2 separate regions of the Homo sapiens genome follow, and region 1 is linked to region 2. The links are contacts of gene promoters, found by promoter capture Hi-C in human tissues and cell types (Jung and others, 2019). All regions are on one chromosome and are shown on one strand. The core of a region is centred on a gene start or on the middle of the fragment in contact, and the rest is flanking DNA. Distances in the headings are between cores, read along the strand shown. Region 1 overlaps GABRA2 (gamma-aminobutyric acid type A receptor subunit alpha2). Region 2 holds the start of GABRA4 (gamma-aminobutyric acid type A receptor subunit alpha4).

Evidence for each region. The method cuts DNA at HindIII sites, captures the fragments that hold promoters and counts their contacts. A contact is called where the count stands out against the background at its distance.
Region 1: a fragment that was not itself captured here is called in contact with the fragment with the promoter of GABRA4 in region 2 in 1 of the 25 tissues and cell types used here (dorsolateral prefrontal cortex).

Annotation. Positions count from the first base shown.
Region 1 is chr4:46,319,180-46,322,654 of GRCh38, reverse strand. The region is part of intron 4 of GABRA2 (gamma-aminobutyric acid type A receptor subunit alpha2); the gene reads left to right. Among named protein-coding and RNA genes, the nearest start is that of GABRA2, 69 kb to the left of the region's middle. The HindIII fragment of the contact is 4,076 bases long and covers 1-3,475 here.
Region 2 is chr4:46,992,058-46,995,935 of GRCh38, reverse strand. GABRA4 (gamma-aminobutyric acid type A receptor subunit alpha4) reads left to right here and starts at 2,355. Exons shown (of 9, transcript NM_000809.4): 1 at 2,355-2,597; 2 at 2,990-3,108. The coding sequence starts at 2,512. It also overlaps a transcript of GABRB1 not described here. RefSeq lists an enhancer at 1,899-1,968 and a silencer at 2,130-2,424. The HindIII fragment of the contact is 6,154 bases long and covers 1-3,571 here.

The DNA of each region.
Region 1 (3,475 bases), core at 434-2,933, 670 kb after region 2:
GCATTGAAGAAGGTGGTCACGATTCTTGTTCTCAGTGTGGACTAAAAGTTGTCCAGATATAGGGAGGGGATAGAGAAGACTGATCAACAGAGGTTAGTGAGTTTGCATAGTAAAATGCAGCATGATAAATCAGAGGCCTGACACATACTTATGTCATTATTGTGGCAGCATAGAGGGGTGCATGTGTTGGGGCGTGGGTGTGTGGATGTGGTGGGGGATTATTGTAGGGTGGCTAGAGAAGTAGAGAGGAAGAGATCGTGCAGGGCCTTGGAGGCTGTGAGAGTGTTTTTACTTCACCCCCAGGGCTTTAGAGATTCAGGTGACTGAAATCAGCAAGATTTTATTATTTCAAACTCCCTTTCTCACATTACGGCAATGCTTCAGTGCATACCATAGCTTAAAGAGTCCAGTCCAGACTAATTTCAGCATCAGTCTCTTAGGCCATCTAGATGTTCTGTCCTTTTCCATGCCTTTTTCACAGGTAAGGGATATACTGTGGAGACAGGCCAAGATCTACTCTTCCTCTTCTTTTTCTGTGTTTTTCAAAGTTGATGCAATGGTAAGGGAGAGTAGTAAAACGGGAACATACATTTTTACTGAACTGGTTCTATTGGTAGTTCTCTGTTAGCAATATATGCCGTTTGTATGGTTGGTGGATGAATACTGGATCTCCCATGGGGCATACTTGTGATGTCTTCTCAGTGACCTCCTTATTGCAGTCACCAAAAACACAGGTGGCTTATTCTCCAATGGCATTCTTTGTGGTATCCTGTGTGGCCTCTGCCTCTGGAACTTTATGACCTTTAATTGCTGGTTGTCTCTACCTTGTCTGGCCACCCTTTTGTTGAGTATGGGGAGAGGGAGAAGGATCTTTTGAAGATGATTTATGCCAGACTATCTTCCTTGGTGTCCAACCATTTTCTGAGAACTTTGCAAATATTATCTCACTTCATCCTTACAAGAGTCCTAGGAAGTAACTTCTATTTTTCTTACCATTTTACAGATAAGTCAACTGATATAAAGAAAGGTTAGCCAACCTGCTCAAAGCCAGGTACCCTGATCTACCCGACTTGAGAACTTGTGTTTTAACATCTATTTCTTATTACTTAATATGTATCATTATGATTATTTGATTTTGTGTTTGAGTTAGTTTTAATTGTGAAAAGATTTTTTATTATGCACATTTAAGATGTACATTATATTTTAGTGCACTTATAATAGTAAGTGGCTACTACAGTCAAGTAAAATTAACATATCCATCATCTTGCATAGTTTACTTTTTTTCCAGTAAGAGCACTTACATTTCCAGTATACAATAATTATAGTCGTTATGTTTTACCTTAGATCTGTAGACATTCATCCTATGTATCTAAGCTTTATACCCTTTGATTGACACCTCCCCATTTTTTCCCTCTTCACATCCCACCGCAGTAACTGCCAACATTTTATTCTATGTATTCAAACAACCAACGTACCTTTCTCTCTTCCTTTTTTCCACATGTAAGTGAGATCATGCAGTATTTTCCTTCTGCGTCTGACTTATCTTACTTAGTATAATGCCCTCCATGTTTATCTATATTGTTGCAAATGATGGGATCTCCTTTTCTAAGGCTGAATAGAATTTCATTGTACATATATATTATGTTTAAATAATTTATTCATGCATTGACGGACACTTAGATTGTTTTTGTATATTGGGTATTGTGAATAATGCTACAATGAGCATGTGAATGCCAATATCTTTAAAGGTCATGATTTCATTTCTCTTGGGTATATACCTAACAGAAAGATTCTGCTTTTAACATTTTGAGGAATATCAATATTGTTTTCCCTAATGGATACACCAATTTACATCCCCACCAACAGTGTACATGGATTCCCTTTTATCTACACCCTGGCCAACACTCGTTATCTCTTGTCTTTTTGATAATAACCATCCTAACAGGTGTGAGGTGATATTGATTTTAATTTGTAATTCTTTGATGATTAGTGATGTTGAGCACCTCTTTATATACTTATTGACCATTTTGTGTTTTTATTGGAGAACTGTCGATTCAGATTCTTTACCTATTGAGTTGTGTGAATTCCTTATGTATTTTGGATATTAATCTCTTATCAAATATATAATCTGCAAGTATTTTCTCCCAATCCATAAGGCTACCTTTATATTTTGTTGATTGTTTCCTTTGCTGTACAGAAGCTTTCTAGTTTGATGTATGTCGACTTGTTTATTTTTACATTTGTTGCCTGAGCTTTTGGAGTGATGTTCAAAACACTCATTGCCAAGATCAATGTCAAAGAGCCTATCTTCTCTTCTAGGAGTTTTATAGTTTCAGGTCTTACCTTTAGGTCTTTAGTCTGCCTTGAGTTGATTTTTGTGTATGGGATAAGATAGATGTCCAATTTAATTCTAGTGCATATGGCTATTCAGTTTTTCCAACATCAGGTTTTGAAGAAAATACCCCTTTCAGAAATTCCAAAACTCCAGTCTCAGCCCTACAACTTAGTTCTTCCTGTAACTTCTCATAAGCCATGAGTAATGTCCATTTATTGATCTATGAAAGAAGGAAATTTTATTCTGATATTCTGCCTTCAAGGGTTGTTTTATGTATGGTATAATGAAAAGACCATGGTATTTAGAAACACAGAATTTGAGACCAAATCTTGCCTCTCTGTCTTTTTTTTAAGTAAATATTGCTTTTGAAGTATTTTCCACTTGTGAAATTGGTATAATTTTGCATATGCAATGAGGATGTTATGAATTTTAAATGACACATATTATATCAAAGTAAATTGCTGTCTACTATAACTATGAATCATATTGAATACTTCTATTATATATATTTTAATTATCTTCTGTTAAAATATGAATCTTTAGTAACATTTTCTAATTTGTTAGTGAAATTTGCCTGGCCCCTAGTTCCAAAAAGAATGCCCAAACATCTTACCTCCACAATGTTTTGAATGTGCAGTAGCTATGTTGTTCTGCAACTGTAGTTTGGTGAACTTCTTTGTATAATAAGGCTTGTACTAATTGGGTTTACTGGCCCTTTGCTGATCTGTTCTTAAGATTCTCATTGTTTTTGCAATTTTTGCAATGCAAATACTGTGCTAAATTGTTATCTAGCCCCGTTTGAGTACCAACTGAAAGTATTCGAGCTTCATTATTCTTGTGTATTCCAAGAGTGATATTTTTTACATTGTTGCATACCTGCTTCATAGACTACATGTTCTTCATTATAGAAGAAACACACTGATTGGAATTTACTCAAGGGAGACTAGCCTTTATTAGCCACAAGAGTATAATGTAATAAGTAAATAAATGTAGAAAATCAAAGTAAATGAGAAATCACTCCAGGAACAGTCCTACAATTTAGTTGTGTTTTAGTGAGTGGATAAGATTCTTCAGGAATTGGCTATAAGTACTGATTTATAATTAATGTAGTCAGGCAGTAAAGAATATGATGCCTTCATT
Region 2 (3,878 bases), core at 1,106-3,605:
ATTATCTTCAGCTGAACTTAAATACTATAACCCAATTAACAAAAATATAACTGGAAGTAGCTACTCTGAAAGAATGTTCTTTTAATTTGAATATAATAGTTTCACAGATTTTAAGTTTGAATTTTAAAGATACGATATGTAACTGTTTCCCCAAAGCCATTATTTTGGTTTCTTAATTTTTTGATATGTGTATTTTTAAAATGAAAATTGCAAGGGAAAGTGGTTTAGAAAATACAAATTTAGGTTTTAGAAAGTATAGGAAAAGGCTTACAAATGTAAGGCGGTGGCTTACATCTGTCATACCAGCACTTTGGGAGACAGAGGCAGGAGGATCACTTGAGACCAGGAGTTTGAGGGTAGCCTGGTGACATCGCAGAGCCCCCACATCTCTACAAAAATATAAAAATATATTAACAGAGCATGGTGACACATACCTGTACTTCCAACTACTTAGAAGGCTGAGGTAGAAGGATTGCTTGAGCCCAAAAGGTAGAGGCTGCAGTCACTATGATGGTACCACTGCTCTCCAGCCTGGGCAACAGAGCTAAATTCTCTTTTTAAAAAGGTAGGAAAGTATTAAGATTAGAGAAATAATATAATATGTGGAGAATCTGTGGTGACTAATGCTTTCATGGCATATTTGGAGGATACACTAGTTCTTCCGCTATTTTTCCCAAACGAGAGAGCTTGATAGTCATCCACATTTATAAGATGGATCTGAGAACAAGCAATTCATTGCTTTGTTTAATTGTTCATTCAATAAATATTTATTGACATTCTATGTGCCATGCACTGTAACAGCAGATAAAATAAACACAGATGAGCAAAAATTACCTAGCCCAGGCCCTCAGAGAGACCACAGTCTATGAGAAAAGAATGATAGAGATGGGATTAGGATGAAGTTAACAAATTCCATGAAGAAAGCAGTACAGAATACAGAGCACGGAGCTCTAGCTACTGCCCACGATGAGCACTTTGGGCTTTCCCTTAGAAAGAAAACTTGAATCCAGACGTTTAAAACACACAAAAAAACCAAAACCCCTGTCTAATACAATGCGTTCCCTCTTCATACCCGTCCACTAGTCATCTCAATTTGAACAAATCATCAGAGTTCCGACTAGAACCTAATTGGTGTTTGGTTCCAAGGTATGGGAATTACTTAGCTCATTGATCCATCATATGAAAATTTCCACATGCATCATTACTAATTTGAAAGACGCTTTTCCCCCTTGGAGCCAATAATTAATGTTTCCAAAGATCTATTGGGAATGCTTATCTTTGCTCAGTAAAACAGTAAAGATATGGAGCTTAGTGTTCCCTTTCATGTCACAAGGGAACTAATATTTGTCCCCCTCCATTTTAATTTATGTATCCTTTCTCTCCATACCCCACCTTCTGCCTCTCTCTCTCTCTCTCTCTCTGTCTCTCTCTGTCTCTCTCTCTCTCTCTCTCACACACACACACACACACACATTTTCTCTTTCCCCCCCCACTCTCTCTCCAGCCGTCCTTTCCCCCTACCTAAAGCAGTCAACCTCTGGAAGTAAGTCAACTCCATTCTGAAAAAGAAGAGTGTCGCAAGAAGTGAAAGTGATTTTGACCAGAGGTCGCTTGTCTCCACCTCTCCCCTCCTCTCCAGAAAAGGATGGAGCAGCAAAGCGGAGGGTGTGCGCGTGTCTGGTGGAGGCGGGTAAAGAAATGGGGTGTCTTTAAAGCAATAGCTTAGCAAATACTGGGACTAGAGTGCGGCTCGAGTCCACTTCCCAATAGTTTGGCGAGAGTCCGCCGGGTGAGCTGCAACCCCTGTTACCAGGAAGAATCTTTCTGCTTTCATTGCTCTCCCTACCGCCCCCCATAACACCTGAATGGGAGGGTCTCAAAGGTGGTTTGAGCCCGGACTTGATCCCCTCTCCTCACCACCGCTACCACCCGACGCCCAGCAGTCCCCGTCACCCGCCCTTTCTCCACCTCCAACCTTGACTCTGGGTACAAACAGGTCCTCGCACAACCTGATGACAGAGGAGCTTCATTGGTTAGATCCAAATCCCAGCGGAAGGGAGGGGGCCAGGAGGTAGGAGGACGAACACTGCTGTGGGCGGGGAGCCCACTTGGGGTCGGGGGCTGCGAAGCCGGAGGAGGGGCGAGAGACCCCGTTCCTCATCCCCGGAGTTACAGTCGGAACAAACTTGCCGAGTCTTGCAGCGCAAGCGCGCGGATACGAACCCCAGAACCTTCAGCGCGCGGGCACGAAAGGGTGTGGAGCGGTATACATAGCTCTACATACACATTGAGCGCTGAGCGAGAAAGGAGGGGGCGAGGAAGGCAGGTTCCGCCTCCCCTGGCCCCGTGCACACACACGCCCACCGCGGCTCGGGCTGGCTGAGCGCGGGCGAGTGTGAGCGCGAGTGTGCGCACGCCGCGGGAGCCTCTCTGCCCTCTCCTCGCACCCTGCTCAGGGCATCTGAAGAGCCTGGAAACGTGAACAGGCTTGAAGTATGGCATGTTGCAAAGATGGTTTCTGCCAAGAAGGTACCCGCGATCGCTCTGTCCGCCGGGGTCAGTTTCGCCCTCCTGCGCTTCCTGTGCCTGGCGGTTTGGTGAGTTCTCTGGGGTGCGAGGAGGTGGGCAACGGAAAGTGGAGAAATGGCTAGCTCCGGGACCCCTTTGGCCACTCGCTCCTCCCTGGGTGGACTAGGTCTTCTTATCTCAGCTGTAAGAGCAGGGGCCGAAGCCAGGCTTTTCTGTGACCGCATAGATGCGGAGAGCACCAAGGGCGCAGGATCCAAGAGGCGTGTGGGCACTGGGGGTCTTGCGGCGGGGCGCGCTTTTCCTGACCATTTCTGTCTTCTGCATCCCAACCCCCAACCTCCTCTCCTTTAGCTTGGGGCAAGCGACTCTTTCCCTAGAAAACAAACCTGTTTGCACCTGTTCTCTGATGGATTCTTAAAATAATCTCCTCCGCCCCCGGTTTTTTTTTTTTCGCTTGCAGTTTAAACGAATCCCCAGGACAGAACCAAAAGGAGGAGAAATTGTGCACAGAAAATTTCACCCGCATCCTGGACAGTTTGCTCGATGGTTATGACAACAGGCTGCGTCCTGGATTTGGGGGTATGAACGATTTCAAACGCGCAAGTGTGTCCTGTCTGTCCCTCTCTTGGTCTTCCTGTCTGTCTGTCTGTGGGAATATCATTAGGTATGCCTCACGTGCAAAAATAAATCTCTCTCTCTTTCTATCTCTCCTCTCTTGGTGAGACCTATGACAAGAAGACCGCCTCCACCCGTACTTTCCCATCTCCCTGCCCCCTCAGAAGCTTTGCCTCTCCCCCACACTAATTACCTCCCGGGACCTGACTGCTGGGTGGGGGAGGTTGGAGAGGAAGAGTCAAAAATGGGAACTCTGGGCTCAGCTGCCTGGACGCTCTTCGCTGAGAATAGTTTCCCTGAACCTGGCCACTTCGCTCAGAGCAGGTTGCATTGGAGGCAGCTGAACCGAAGTCCCTCATCCTCCCACGTGTCCATGCCTATGCCAAAACCTTGGCCAATGTTCTACCTGGGACATAAATCTGGGGCATGAAGCTGCCTGCTCTGCTAGAGAACCCAGTCCTTTCCTTTTCTCTTCTACAGCAGGATGCTTTTCTTTTTTCCCTTTCTTTTTTGGTGATGTGTCATTTGCTTTCCTCCTAAGACTTTAAAGTTAGAGATGTTCCAGCTTGCTTTCTTCAACAAAATAAGTATAAAGGACTTAATAGAGGTACATCCATTAACAGCACTGTTGCTGTTTTTCATATTCATATTTCCTTTGCATATATAATGGAAATCTATGTGGCAAGCTTTGCGCTAGGTACTAGGTCCACAGAAATATTAAGATACAATTCTTA